Regions from separate parts of the Homo sapiens genome. Here region 1 is linked to region 2. Evidence: promoter capture Hi-C in 16 types of primary human blood cells and fetal thymus (Javierre and others, 2016). All regions are on one chromosome and are shown on one strand. The core of a region is centred on a gene start or on the middle of the fragment in contact, and the rest is flanking DNA. Distances in the headings are between cores, read along the strand shown.

Region 1 (4,621 bases), core at 2,017-4,516, 120 kb after region 2:
CCTGAGCATTCTGGCTAGAAAGGTGCGAGGCTGTGAGCAGGAAAGAAAGCTGGTCTGGGGCCAGAAAGACAATGAAGAAGGTGTCAGCCCCTTGTCTCCATCCGCTAAGGGAGCGTCACAGCAGCAGCAACAGGGGCTCCGGGGCCCACCCTGCCACTCACCGCTGTCTCCACAACATCTTTATGCCTCAGTTTCCTCCTCTGGGGCTGCAGCAGTGCCAGCCTGGTGAGGATGTGTGGAAAACGCTCAGCGCACAGTCCAGCCTGCAGGGAATTCCTCAGGGAATGGTGGGTTTTACCATTTCCAGAAGTCTCCAGGGATAGGAGACGGTGAAAATATTGTGGTCGTCCAGGCAATGTCCCTTGGCTAGAGAGGGAGTGGGCGCTGAGTCTCCAGGGGGACCCTGAAGTCAGAGTGCTGGAGGCTGCGCCCAGGCTCCTCACAGGCTGTTGGCTTTCAGTGGGGCCGGGAGAGGGGAGTACAGGTTTGTCAGCCTCCAGCCCACTCCACCCTGGTCACTCCCTGGCTTCCCTCCCAACATTTACCAAATGAACTGAGGCACTCCTTTCCCAGACGTGGGGGCTCAGAGATGAACACAGCTCTGCCAGGCCCACAAGGAGCTGCTCGTCCAGTGGGAGAGGCAGAGCTGTACCCCACAGCACAGGAATAATGAAACAGTAAACAGAGGGGCCCAACTCACAGCCCCAGAGCCTGACTTCTCTGGCCCTTTCCCATCAGCCAGGAGTAGGCCATCCCTCCCAGGAGAGGGCAACAGTGCAGGCAGTGGGGAAGCTTGCAGGTAGCCTTTAAAACCAACAGTCCCAGCCTGCCCTCCACTCAGATAGGGGGACTGTGGGTGGGTGAGCAGTGGGCAGTGAGCTGCCTTCCGAGAGTCCTGGCTGGGGAGACGTGGCAGGGAGGCATTCGGCCTTCCATCATCTCTCCAGAGGGACAGGAAGGGAGCAGCTCCACTCTCCGCTCACCCCGGGGACAAAGTGACTGTGTGGGGCTGAGGGTCCTTGTGCCCTCCCCACCAGCCCTGAGCCCCCACATCTGTGCCCGGTCAGGAGCTGAAGGACCTGGCAGCACAGGTGAAGGATGTGTCGGTGACCGTCGGCATGGACAGCCGCTGCCACATCGACCTGAGCGGCATCGTGGAGGAGGTGAAGGCCCAGTATGACGCCGTCGCGGCTCGCAGCCTGGAGGAGGCCGAGGCATACTCTCGGAGCCAGGTGGGGCTGACCACACAGGGCACGAGAAGCAGCCTGGACAGTTCTCTGGGTGGCAGGAAGGGCTGGACTGGTGATGGCTGAGGTTGCCTGCAGCTCTCTGTCCTGAAAGTCTATGAGAGAGGAATGGAGAAGCACAGGGACGGGGCGGGCGGGGGGAGACCACAGAAGCTGGTCTGTGCCCTCCAGGAGTTCAAGGTGGTGCTGTTATCAGCAATGCTAGGCCAGATGTGGGCATGGCCCATGGGGCTCAGCTAGGGCAGCCAGGAGAGGCCACCCAGAAAGGGAGGTGGAAGGGGGAGCTGAGGGAGCCTGGCGTGGCGTGGTGGGCTGCAGAGTTGGAGATGGGACTGGAGGATGCAAGAAAAAGCAGAGGCGGGTAACAAGTGCTGGGAGCGGCACTGAGCTGCCCCTCACTGAGACCTCCATGTACCTCCAGCTGGAGGAGCAGGCCGCCCGCTCGGCCGAGTATGGGAGCAGCCTCCAGAGCAGCCGCAGCGAGATCGCGGATCTCAATGTGCGCATCCAGAAGCTGCGGTCCCAGATCCTCTCTGTCAAGAGCCATGTGAGTATCTGGGGGACGCGCCTGGGGGCGGGGAGGAGAGCAGGGAGACACACAGTCATGTGTGCTGAATACAGGCAAGACATGACTGAGTGACCCTGTGTGGGTCGCTTAGCGCCTCTGTGCCTCAGTTTCCTAATCTGTCAAATGGGATAATAGCACAGCCTCCTAAAGTAGTTATGAGGCGCTCTGCATACAAAAATACTCTGTAATCTGGTCAAGGCTGCTGGAACGTTAGAAAGCCCCCACACTACACACACCCAGAGCCCACTGCCTCCCTCCTGGGAACCCCCACCAACTACACAGAGAGGAGGGAGTAGAGGCCTAAGTCCCAGCTTCCAGCCAGGACAAACCTTCAGGGCAGGTGCTGCCCCATAAGGACAGCCGGGACAGGCTCCTTTAGTGGCTTGCGGTGCTTTCCTCTGGCCTTGGGAAGGTGCCTCTTCAGGTCTAACTGAACTCCCTCTTGCTGCATGGCAACCAGTTACCACACCCAGAAATGCCATTGCTCAGCCCTCCCTCCCCACACCTACCCCCACCAAGGACAGAGACGACTCCTGGCCCTGGCCCGCTCCTCCTTCCCCTGCTCACAGGCCCTTTCACTCTGTCCTCCTGGCTGCAGTGCCTGAAACTGGAGGAGAACATCAAGACAGCTGAGGAGCAGGGTGAGCTGGCCTTCCAGGATGCCAAGACCAAGCTGGCCCAGCTGGAGGCCGCCCTGCAGCAGGCCAAGCAGGACATGGCGCGGCAGCTGCGCAAGTACCAGGAGCTGATGAACGTCAAGCTGGCCCTGGACATCGAGATCGCCACCTACAGGAAGCTGGTGGAGGGCGAGGAGGGCAGGTGAGAGCCAGGGCTGGTGAGGAAGGGCTGCAGGGGAAGGAGGGCTGGAGGCCCAGGCCTACACAAAGTCAGTTCTCCTTTCCAATATGATACAGTGAGCCTACCAGGCCTGGGTTTAAGTCTTGGCTTAGTCACTTACAAACTGGGACCTTGGCCCAGTTCATTTCATCCTGTTTCCCCATCTGGAAAGTGGGCTGATCATAAACATGGTTCACCTGTGGCAGGGATGATTCATGTGATTATGCCTGCAAATGCCTGTCAAAACTCAGTGCTCAATGCTATTAGCCATTTATGCCATGGAGATGGGACAGAGGCCCAGGAAGGACAAGCTGGCTAGCCAGGGCCACACAACAGGGCAACCCCAGGGCTGGGAGTGACCACCAAGAACTACCCTCCACTTGCCAGCCCCCAGGGGAGTTTAAGCCACAGGCTCTCTTCGCATCCCATCATATCCCTCTCCCACCCCCCCGTCCCCCACCCCCAGGATGGACTCGCCCTCAGCCACTGTGGTCAGCGCTGTGCAGTCCAGGTGCAAAACCGGTGAGTCCTCTTGCCCCGAGAACCCATGGTGGGGTGAGGGTGAGGGTGTAGGGGATCATGATCCTAAAGGCATCATTTTAAGTGGCTCCCAAACCTCCAGCCCCTTCCCTCCCCTACCCCTTATGTTCCCTGTAGCTGCCTCCAGATCAGGCCTCTCCAAGGCCCCCTCCCGAAAGAAGAAGGGCAGCAAAGGCCCCGTGATCAAAATCACCGAAATGTCAGAGAAGTACTTCTCGCAGGAGTCGGAGGTCTCAGAGTAAGGCGGCTGGACCCCAGGAACCCCAGGGCACTCCACTGCAGCAGGAGGGACTTAAGCTAGACTCAAGAAAGCAGCTTGGAGCCTCTAGGTTGAGAAGAGAGGCAAAACCTGATATTGAACTGAGAGAGGGGTTCAAAACTGACTGTGTTTTGTGGGCTGCCAGGGTGGGAGAGGAGCATCACCAGCTCCTCAGAGCCACTCCGCTCCATATCAGTATCTCACAGTCCCATCCTTCCAACCTTCTGGCCAGAGGTTTTCCTGATGGGTGAGTCGGAATTAGGGGTCAGTTTTGTCTCCACCTCCTCGCTCCTCTGAGGCTCCTCCTCCAGCATCAGGCTCTGCCAAGGCCCCTCTGACTCTTGCCCAATCCTTGACCTTGACTCCTATCTCAAGCCTTGCCTTGTCTCTGCCTCGGAACTGGGACTGGGACTGGCTCATCCACCTATGTGCGGGAGCCGAGGAGGACGGCGTGGGCCCTGTCCTGTATCTGGAATTCCTGGGAAGGCTGGCTGCTGAAGACCCTCTTGGCTTTCCCGTGCTCTTTGGGCTCCCCAGAGACCTGACAGTATTAGGGAGTGAAGGGAGGAGGGGCCCTGGCTATTTGGGACCTAAGCCTAGGCCCCAGAGATCAGCCCGAACACCCGCATCCCTTCCTCCTCCCATGGGTCCCTCCCAGTAGGCAGTAGTCAGAACTGGATGGGCTGCCCCCAGCCAGCTCCCAGCAGCTTCTCCGGAAGCTGCTCTTGCCATAATCAACTCCCTGGGAGTGGAAGCCAGATGGCAGCTTGAGATTGGGCAGGAGCATTCGATCTTCCTTTCACCTCCCTGCCATGCTGGGGTCCTACCCAGCCTGGATCTGAGCTCTGTGCCCCCAGCCGGGTTGTTCCCAGCCTGAGCACCGGGCTTTGGTGCACCAGGCCTTGGAGACCCCTGGTCCCACCCCTGCCGTGAAGCCCCAGGCCCACTTCCCAAGAATCTCACTTCTCAGGGCCTCTGTTCTCCTCTCCACTGGGCCAAATAGCCTGGCCCTCCCCTCCTTGGCATTCATGGGGGAGCCCAGGAACCCCCCACACCTATGGGGTTAGAGCTCCTCCTTTCTTCTCACTCCTTCCCCTTCCTCCCTCCATGCCCACTCCCCCTGCCTCCAGCAGGCCAGGAAGAAGGCACAGTCCAGGCAAGTCTGGGAGC
Region 2 (4,557 bases), core at 1,852-4,351:
TGCATTTTTTGTGTTGAAATATTTCACAATAAAAATAATTGTTATCTCCACAAAGTTAAAATCTATCCTCTTTACCTTGCCAGAGCCAAGACCATAGAGTGGAGATTCTGCCATCTTCCCTCCCCTCCTCCCTGCCACCTTCCCTCCCCTCCTCCCTTCCCCATGACAAGGTTTTTTCACTCTGAAGAAAACAAGTTGAATGTCCTTTTAGGTCTTCAAAAATTAGCAGCAATTAATTCCTGAAGTTTAATGAAATGGTGTCACATTTGAATTTTTCATATTCTTACATCTTTAAAATTGCTTAGTAAGGACCAGCCATTAGTAATTAGCTTGTGTTTATACATGTTGTTTTTATAAGGAGTTATACTGGTAGAAAAGGTGAAGTGTGGATGAGATGTACTTTGACTCACAGTGCTCCTCAGGACACCCAACCGCTGGTTTACTGGGGACATCACTGCTCAATTGTGAGCAGTGCCCCAAATTCCAGATGAGGGTACAAAGAGCTTCAGAAGTGCTGGCCCAGCAGCCCTGAACTCACAAAGGGACAGCAGGTGCCATACTCTTCTCTGGGGTGACCAGATAGCTCAACACAGTCTGTGACCTCCCACATTTGTCCTGCACAAGGCCACACTCTGAATGTTTTGCACAGATACCCTGAGAGCCCTATTCTCTTCTATTTTTTTCCTCTCCTCTCTTTTCCCATCAATCCTGCTTCTGTTCTCATTCCCTAAGTCTACTCTGCCTGCCTTTGCCCTTGAAGCATAGCAGCTCCAGGGGGCTATAAGCCAGGCCATTTCACTTCTCTTTTCTTCTCCTCAATTTAATGCAAACCTCTGTACTTTACGAGCTAATTTTTCTAGGACCTGCTCTATTGGAGTGGGGGGTGGTTCACTGGGTAAGTAGAACATAGTACAGTCTATCAAAGTATTGCCATATACCAGAGGTATGCAAATAACTAAAACTGATGTTTTCCACCCCGTCCTTCAATTCTTAGCCACGGGGTGCTGCACATCTAACTCATACTCCTTCCCAGCCCCCAAGTAGCCTCACATCGCCGTGTGTCCCTAAATGACCCCTCATGGTTCTAACCATCCCAATCCACTCTGACTCTGCCCGTCTTCCTTAGATGGACTCTCTCACACCCTAAATTCACAGATACTCCCCTGTAAACAACTTTCACTACCCTCTTGAACTTATCCAAAGATTAGGAAGTCAAGGGGTTGTCACAGCTTATAAGTGAGAAGGCAATGCAACTCCTGGCTCCATCACTTACCAGCTGGGAGACTTCGGGCAAGTTATTTAACCTCCCTGACCCTTGGTTTCCTCATCAGTAAAATGGGGATAATGGCACATACTTCATATGATTGATGTGAGAATTAGAGATCATTTACGATATATAATGATGATCACATAGTAGGTGACCAATTAAAAAGAAACATATTCTTATCAAACTAAGATCCATGTTTCTCTACACAGTTCTTTCTAATTCTAATTCTCTATACAGTTTTTCCTAATACAGGGGGAAATGTACTGAAGTGATCCAACCTCCATCTCCTGGGTTCAAGCAATTCTCCTGCCTTAGCCTCCCATGTAGCTGGGAATACAGGCACGTGCCACCATAACGGGCTAATTTTTGTATTTGTAGTAGAGACGGGGTTTCACCATCTCTGGTCTTAAACTCCTCCACTGAGGCTGGTCTTGAACTCCTGACCTCAGGTGATCCACCCCCCTCAGACTCCCAAAGTGCTGGGATTACAGGTATGAGCCACTGCGCCCAGCTGTGATTCAATTTAGCATCACCAATCTGACATTTTATGCTTCCTGGGGTGATATAATAAGAGTTACACAGCATATTTTATGAAGTATTCTGTCCCAACAATGTTTAATTTAAACCTAATCCAGCCTCTAGCCCAGTGCTGTCCAACAGAATTTTATGTGAAAATAAACAATAAATAAAATAAAAATAAATAATAAAGAAGTGTTCTTTATATGCACTGTCTAATAAGGTAGGCACTACTTACAGGTAGCTGCTGAGGACTCAAAATGTGGATAGTGCAACTGAATAACTAGATTTTTAACTTATTTAGTTTTTACTAACTTAAATTTAAGTAGCCACATCTGCCTATTGTCTACCAAATTGGACATCCCAGCTCAAGATTTACTTTCTAATTTATAGAAAATACAAGGGCTAGAGCCACAAATTAAATTATGTAAAATGTAGTTTTAAAATCCTTAGGACAGTTAGGAAAATTGAATCTGAGATGAATAGTAAGTGGTGCTTTGGAATTATTGTTAATTTTCCTGAATAAGAAAATAGTACTCTCCTTATTCTTAAGAAATTCCTGCTGATGTATTTAAGGGTGACATGCCATGCTTTCTGCCACTCAAATAATTGGGCAACTGTGAAAGCAAATATGGTATAATGTTAACTGTTGAATCGGGGTAAACAGGTGGAGCATCAATGCATGTGTGTTGTATTATTCCAATTTTCCTCAATATTTGAAAGCTTTCATCATAAAAAAGATAAAAGACAAATATTTAATAATCTGCTGACTGTTCCCATGGTAGGAAAAGTGAGATGGTTTTCAGCTGCCAACTGAAAAATCTGGAGATGGGGAAATCCAGATTTGTGTTTCAGGAGCACTTTAGCCACAGCTGTGATGGAAATGAGAGATGGTATTTATTAATGCCTCAGCCTTTCCTGAAACCCCTCTCCCCACATCACACTTAACACACAGGTCTCCTCCTCCCAGTTTCTCCCAGCACCTGGCCTCCCTTCTCTTCCCCTCGCCAGGCTCTACTCCTCCTTCTCGTCCTCTCCTCTGCCTTCCCCTTCCCTCCCCAATGCCTGCAGATGAAGGAATGCCCTGCTGGCAAGACACTTTGAAGATGAAACATGCTGACTCCCCCAGAGCCCAAGACTGACATCTTTTACAAAGAAGAGGGTGCAGGCCACTCCCCCATTAAAGCACATTCTGGAGAGGCGTTAGACCCGGCTAACCACCCAAGCCCATAAAGCGCAAATTGCCCCAACATCATCTTCACAGCCAAGCCCCTTCAGAATCTGCGCATAAATAGGGCTGCGGTGCCCTGAGGAGCACATTGGAGTTTCCATCAGGACTCCAGGTCCCCTATCCTGTCCTCTGCAACCCAAACGTCCAGGAGGATCATGACCTGCGGATCAGGATTTGGTGGGCGCGCCTTCAGCTGCATCTCGGCCTGCGGGCCGCGGCCCGGCCGCTGCTGCATCACCGCCGCCCCCTACCGTGGCATCTCCTGCTACCGCGGCCTCACCGGGGGCTTCGGCAGCCACAGCGTGTGCGGAGGCTTTCGGGCCGGCTCCTGCGGACGCAGCTTCGGCTACCGCTCCGGGGGCGTGTGCGGGCCCAGTCCCCCATGCATCACCACCGTGTCGGTCAACGAGAGCCTCCTCACGCCCCTCAACCTGGAGATCGACCCCAACGCGCAGTGCGTGAAGCAGGAGGAGAAGGAGCAGATCAAGTCCCTCAACAGCAGGTTCGCGGCCTTCATCGACAAGGTGGGTGTCCTGGATCACACCCTTCCTGAACCCCCACCACCTACACAGCCAGGGCCGGGCACTAAGGATGGAGTCAGAGGCACAAAGACCTCTGCCTGCCTGAGATCCCAGTCTGATGGGCGAGGCACACAGACACACAGACAGACAGACACATGCACAGACACACACACACAGGCACTCAAGATGCAGACTCAGCTGACAGTTCAGATAGAGGGAGCTTGTGAAGGAAAAGTGTGGCCAGGCTGCTCTGGGGCACAAGCTAGACATCAGGGAGTTGGGGGAGGGGGGCATGTGACCACTGCTGCTGAACTCAGAGGGGTTTGGGCAGCCCCAGGGTGAGAGAGTAGGGTGCACTGACTTCCAGATGACACAGGGGAAGGGCTGGGACAGCTGAGCTCCCTTCCAGATGGCCTGTGACACCCTCTTCCTGGCACCATCCCCAGAAACCTCATCTGTGATCTGAACCTGAGTACTCTGCCTGTGTGGGTTGCTGATCACCTAGTTTCATAGTGAGGGACTGAGCCTCCACTTCTGTTCATCTGCTTGGGTTGGGGGGGGGGGGTCACTCAACTCCCCAGGGAGCAGGCACTGACACCACCCAGCCCTTGCTCCACTCCTGAGTGGGAAATCTAGACACAGATCATGACCAGGAAATCCAGAAATTGTCTGTCTCCCACTGCCCACCTCTACTCAATCTCAGATAAGCTCCAGATTTGGGGGTTCCCATTAAAGCACCTCCCCTGCGAGCCCCCAGAGCTGGCTTTGGGGCACCAGACACCATCTGCCCCACCTTCCCACACCGAATGGCAGGTGCGCTTCCTGGAGCAGCAGAACAAACTGCTGGAGACAAAGCTGCAGTTCTACCAGAACCGCGAGTGTTGCCAGAGCAACCTGGAGCCCCTGTTTGAGGGCTACATCGAGACTCTGCGGCGGGAGGCCGAGTGCGTGGAGGCCGACAGCGGGAGGCTGGCCTCAGAGCTTAACCACGTGCAGGAGGTGCTGGAGGGCTACAAGAAGAA

What was found. The method cuts DNA at HindIII sites, captures the fragments that hold promoters and counts their contacts. A CHiCAGO score of 5 or more calls a contact.
Region 1: a contact is called between a fragment that was not itself captured here and the fragment with the promoter of KRT81 in region 2, in 1 of 17 cell types (M1 macrophages). The highest score is 5.3, in M1 macrophages.

The regions. Positions count from the first base shown.
Region 1 is chr12:52,170,211-52,174,831 of GRCh38, reverse strand. KRT80 (keratin 80) reads left to right here. Exons shown (of 9, transcript NM_182507.3): 5 at 1,068-1,232; 6 at 1,669-1,794; 7 at 2,414-2,634; 8 at 3,119-3,174; 9 at 3,310-4,621. The coding sequence ends at 3,434. Among named protein-coding and RNA genes, the nearest start is that of KRT80, 19 kb to the left of the region's middle. The HindIII fragment of the contact is 4,944 bases long and covers 795-4,621 here.
Region 2 is chr12:52,290,078-52,294,634 of GRCh38, reverse strand. KRT81 (keratin 81) reads left to right here and starts at 3,101. Exons shown (of 9, transcript NM_002281.4): 1 at 3,101-3,538; 2 at 4,349-4,557. The coding sequence starts at 3,170. All of the region lies in intron 2 of KRT86 (keratin 86), which reads right to left. The HindIII fragment of the contact is 6,626 bases long and covers 2,509-4,557 here.